Linked DNA regions of Homo sapiens: region 2 is linked to region 1. Evidence: promoter capture Hi-C in 16 types of primary human blood cells and fetal thymus (Javierre and others, 2016). All regions are on one chromosome and are shown on one strand. The core of a region is centred on a gene start or on the middle of the fragment in contact, and the rest is flanking DNA. Distances in the headings are between cores, read along the strand shown.

Region 1 (2,744 bases), core at 38-2,537:
CAGTGATCTCCCCAGCTCCCCTACCGGTGCCGCGGGAGGGGACACGGTGACCTGGAGGGAGCACTCCCGCATTGCGAGGGAGCCAGGGGGGCGGTCTGATCTGCAGCCCGGGGTTGTTCCTTCTTTTCTTTTTTTAAAATTAAGACTTTTTTTGTGACGGAGTCTCGCTCTGTCGCCCAGGCTGAAGTGCAATGGCGCGATCTCAGCTCACTGCAACCTCCGTCTCCCGGGTTCAAGCGGTTCTCCTGTCTCAGCCTCCTGAGTAGCTGGGATTACAGGCGCCCGCCACCACGCCCAGCTAATTTTTGTACTTTTAGTAGAGACGGGGTTTCCCCATGTTGGCCAGACTGGTCTAGAACTCCTGAGCTCAAATGATTCGCCCGCCTCGACCTTCCATAGTGCTGGGATTACAGGCGTGAGCCACCGCGCCAGGCCCTACGTATCATTTTTACGGTGAGACATTTGCAGTTTACTCTGTTATTTCGAAATACACATTATTGGCTCTAGTCACTCTGCTGTGCAACAGATCTCAGAACCTACTCCTCTCGTCTCTGAACTTCGTACCCTTTGGCCAACAAGCCCCCATTCCCCCCCGAACCCGCTCCCAGCCTCTGGCAACCATCATTCTAGTCGTTATTTCTATGAGTTCAACTTCTTTAGAGTTCACACATCTTTGTCCCTTTCCCCAAAAAAGCAACCGCTGGGCTTCCAAACTCGCTACAAGTCCAGAAGCCCTCCTGGAAAGGGTCTGGCCGCAGAGGGGCCAGGTCCCGGGAAAGTCTCGCCCGCCCGAGGAGGGGGCCTGGCGCGGCGCCCGGCCTTTGCCCGCTCGCCCTTTGCTCCCACCCTCGCCTCCCGCCGCCCGCCGCCCGCTTGCCCATTCCCGAATCCCCACCCCGATCTTTCTTCTTCTACCCTCCCCCAGTTGTGCAGTCCAGCAAGTTCCCTGGCCAGCCCCCTCCCGGGTGCAGGAAGCTACCGGGTGTCCCGGGTTGTAACCAAGCTTTCCTATTCCCTCCGGCGCGCGGCTCCAAGCTCTCCAAGGAACTGCGGGGGCGGGAGGCGTCGGGACGTCGGCTCCCAAGATCCTCCGAGTGCAAGACCCAGCGGTCATTTCGACGTAAGGGGAGGAGGTCTAAGAGCAAACCTCCTCCACTGGGGCGTCTAGAAACTTGGCAGGAAGAAAGCAAGGGGGTTAGAGGAGGGAGAAAAGGGAAGGAAAGAAAGCAGGAGGTCTACTTACAGGAGCCCGAAGGTTCCACTGCCTGGGGAAGGCGGCTGGGACTGCGCAGCCGGGCGCCCGGGGTCCGACTTATGACAGGTCCCAAGAGAGGGTGGGGCCACCCCAGGGCGGGGCTGCTTCTTTAGGGTGAGAGCCCGGCCCCGAAAGGGTCACAGGAGGAAAACCAGGGTCCGGGAAATCTGAGTGCGTTTGTGTGTGTGTGTGCGCGTATCTCTGTGTGCCTATGTGCATGTGCGCGCGCGTATGTGTGCATGTGTGCGTGTGTGTGCGTGCGCGCCCGCGCGCCCGTGTGTGTGCGTGTAGGGGGTTAGGGACTCCTGATAGGAAAATTCCTAACAGAGCTTTGTCCAGCTGACACTGGACCTCCGCCTGGGGTCCTAAGTTGGAGCCCGGCGGAAATATGCCCCGTGGGGGAACCAACCGTGGCATCTGCCAAGCAGGCCGGAAGGGTCCAAAGGCAGGGCCTGGGGCGGCCGCAGCCCTAATAAGCCCCCGGTGCTGGCTCCGATCCCTGGGCTCCCCGTCAGCCCTGCCGCTTGCCCGCAGTGCAAGCTTTCGCCCAGGGCTGCGGTGCAGACACCCTGCCTGTCTGTCCCCAGTCCGCCTGCTGAACACCTACTCGCCTTCCACCAGCCAATTCAAGGTCACCTCTGTGAACCCTTGCCAGACTCCCCCAGGCAGGAGTGAGCACTCTTGCCACTGAGGCACCCCACCCATCACACCCTAGCAAACATCAGGCCTTGACCTGGCTTCTGCAAGGAGAGGTGGTCTCAGGCAGGGGTTGAACGTGAAGCTAAGTCGTTGGTATTAGACGACTGCAGGTTCGAAGCCTGCACCTGCCACTTACTAGTGGTGTAGCTTTCAAAGACTTACTTACCTTCTCCTTGCCTCACTCAGTTCAGCCATCTGCAAGATGGGGATAAGAAGAATGCCTAACTTCCAGTCATTGTGAAGATTCAATGTCTTTAATTTATTTATTTAATTTTAATTATTTTGAGGTCTTGCTCTGTCACCCAGGCTGGAGTGCAATGGTGGGCATCATAGCTCATTGCAGCCTTGAACTCCTGGACTCAGGTGATCCTCCTTCAGCCTCCCTAGAAGCTGGGATTACAGGCCCACCACCACACCTGGCTCAATGTCTCTCCTTGTAAGGATACCCGCCATATTGGATTAGAGCCCCACTTGTCAGCCTCCGTTTAACTTAAACACGTCTTTGAAGGCCTTGTCTTCAAATACTGTCAAATGGATTAGGGCTCACTAATATGGCCTCATGTAACCTTAATTACCTCTTTAAAGGCCCTATCTACAAATACAGTTACATTCTGAGTACTGGGACTTGGGGATTTTAACACATGAAATTGGGGAAGACACAGTTCAGCCCATAACAGAGTGTGTGGACCAAGCGTGGTGGACGCATGCCACAGGATATACACAGCATCAGAAGCACTGGGTTCCATGTACATAAAGCAACTTGGATGGACCCTAAAAACACAATGCCGAG
Region 2 (2,765 bases), core at 94-2,593, 760 kb after region 1:
GGTATATGATTTATAAGTATTTTTTCTCATTCTCTAGGTTGTCTTTTCACTTTCTTGATAGTGTCCTGGGATGCACAAATTAATTATTTTAATTCTTATGAAGTTCAATGTATCTTCTTTTTTTTCCCTTCTGTGGCTTGTGCTTTTGGTGTCATATTTAAGAATCCATTGTCAAATCCAAGGTCATGAAGATTTACCCTTATGTTTTCTTTCAAGAGCTTTATAATTTTAGCTCCTACATTTAAGGTCTTTGATCCATTTGGGGTTGATTTTTAGAGCCATCTCTTACTCACCATCATGGCCACCATCAGACCCCTCATGAAGCCCAAGATCATCAAAAAGAGGAGCAAGAAGTTCATTCACCACCAGTCAGAACAATATGTCAAAATTAAGCATAACCGGTGGAAACCCAGAGACAACTGCGTTCATAGAAGATTCAAGGGCCAGATCTTGATGCCCAACATTGGTTATAGAGAAGCAATGAAAACACAAAGCACATGCTGCCCAGCGGCTTCTGGAAGTTTCTGGTACGCATTGTCAAGGACTTGGAAGGGCTGCTGACATGCAGAAAATCTTACTGTCCTGAGATAGCTCACAATGTGTCCTCTGGAACTGCAAAGCCATCATGGAAAGGGCAGCCCAGCTGGCCATCAGAGTCACCAGTCGCAATGCCAGGCAGCACAGCAAAGAAAGGGAATAGACAGCTCATGTGCATGTTTTGTGTTGAAATAAAACCATAAAAACTGTGAAAAATTAATTTTCATATAATTTTTGAGATGGAGTCAGGGGGTGGGTCCAAACTCATTCTTTTATGAATAAGAATATCTAGTTAATACGAATATCTGGGGCTGGGCTTGGTAGCACACGCTTGTGATCTCAGAACTTTGGGAATCTGAGGAGGGCAGATCTCTAGAGCCCAGGAGTTCAAGCCCAGCCTGGGCAACATGGTGAGACCTGTCTCTACAAAAAATACCAGCCTGTAGTCCCAGTTACTCGGGAGGCTGAAGTGGGCCGACTGCATGAGCCCAGGAGGTTGAGGCTGCAGTGAGCCAAGATCCACACACCAATGCACCTCAGCCTGGGCTACAGAGCAAAACTGTCACACACACACACACACACACACACACACACACACACACACACAAAGGCTATTCTTGACCTATTAGTCTTGGTATGCTTGCTGAAAATCAATAGAGCATAAGTGTATCAGTTTATTTATTCTATTAATTGATCTATATGTCTATCCCTATGCCAATACCACATGGTTTTTGCTTTTGTTTTGTAATTATTAGACTTGATTTTTTAGAAGAGTGCTAGATTCACAGAAAAATTGAGCAAAAAGTACTGAGAGTTTCCACATACTCCCTCCTCCACCATTAACAGCCCCAGTTGGTATGGTAAATTTGATATAATCAATAAACCAACATTGACATATCATTATCAACCAAAATCCATAGGGTTCACTCTGTGTTGTACCTTCTGTGAATTTTGACAAATATATAATGACATATCTGTAACATTATGGTATCATACAGAATAGTTTTACTGCCCTAAAAATCTTCTGATCTCTGCCTATTGATCCCTCCCTCCTCACTAACTACCGGCAAACACTGATCCTTTTTACTGTCTCCATAGTTTTGCCTCTTCAGAATGTCATATATTTGGAATCATACAGTGTGTACCCTTTCCAGACTGGCTTCTTTCGCTTAGTAATATGCATTTAACTTTCCTCCATGTCACTGTGGCTTGCTAGGTCAGTTCTTTTTTTTTTTTTTTTTTTTTTTTTTTTTGAGACAGGGTCTCACAGTAGCAAGATCTTTAAAAACAGGCAATAAAAGTTTAATTTGATAAGAGAATTTCAAGAAGACAAAAAAAAAGCCCTAGTTATTTGCAAAGCAGAAGAAAAGCAAAAGAGCATACTAACCTTTTATAAGTATTTTGGTAAAGAAAAGTACCAGGGGGCCAGGCACCATGGCTCATGCCTGTAATCCCAGCACTTTGGGAAACCGAGGTGTGTGGATCATTTGAGCCAGGAGTTCAAGACCAGCTTGGGCAACACAGCAAGACCCTGTCTTTACAAAAACTATAAGCCTGTAGAACCAGCTACTCGTGAGGCTGAGGTGGAAGGATAGCTTGAGCCTAGGCGTCTAAGGCTGCAGTGAGCTATGATCACGCCACTGTACTCTAGCCTGTGCAACAGGGCAAGACCCTGTCTCTATTTTTAAAAAATTAAGAAATTTAAAAAAGAAATATTGTGAGAATTAGGAAAATATGACAGAGACACAAAGTGAGGACACATTATTGGAAAAATGGCACCAATTGACTTGCGTGACACAGGGTTGACAGAAATATTCAATTTGTAAAAAATGCATTATCTGTGAAGTACAATAAAGTGAAGCTCCATAAAACAAGGCATACTTACATACATTACCACTAACTAAGTCACTATGTTGTATATTAGATTTCCAGAACTTACTGACCCTATCTAACAGTTTCAGTACCGTGTAATCTACATATCTCCATTCCTCCACCCCCACCACAACCCAGCCTCTGGCAGCCACCCTTCTATTTGCTGCTTCTACGTGTTCAACATTTTTAGATTCCACACATAAGTGAGATCATGCCTTTCTGTGGCTGGCTTATATCACTTAGCATAATGTCTTCCACGTTCATCCATGTTATCACAAATGACAGGATTTCTTTCTTCTTTAAGGCTTAATAGTATTTCATTGTATATGTCTATCTATCTATCTATGTATCTATAT

The links. The method cuts DNA at HindIII sites, captures the fragments that hold promoters and counts their contacts. A CHiCAGO score of 5 or more calls a contact.
Region 2: a contact is called between a fragment that was not itself captured here and the fragment with the promoter of PTGR1 in region 1, in 1 of 17 cell types (naive CD8 T cells). The highest score is 5.0, in naive CD8 T cells.

What each region holds. Positions count from the first base shown.
Region 1 is chr9:111,598,360-111,601,103 of GRCh38, forward strand. It overlaps PTGR1 (prostaglandin reductase 1), which reads right to left and starts at 1,288. Exons shown (of 10, transcript NM_001146108.2): 1 at 1,244-1,288. RefSeq lists an enhancer at 1,139-1,711. The HindIII fragment of the contact is 792 bases long and covers 1,002-1,793 here.
Region 2 is chr9:112,362,417-112,365,181 of GRCh38, forward strand. It overlaps a transcript of PTBP3 not described here and the pseudogene RPL32P22. Among named protein-coding and RNA genes, the nearest start is that of HSDL2, 16 kb to the right of the region's middle. The HindIII fragment of the contact is 5,583 bases long and covers 1-2,765 here.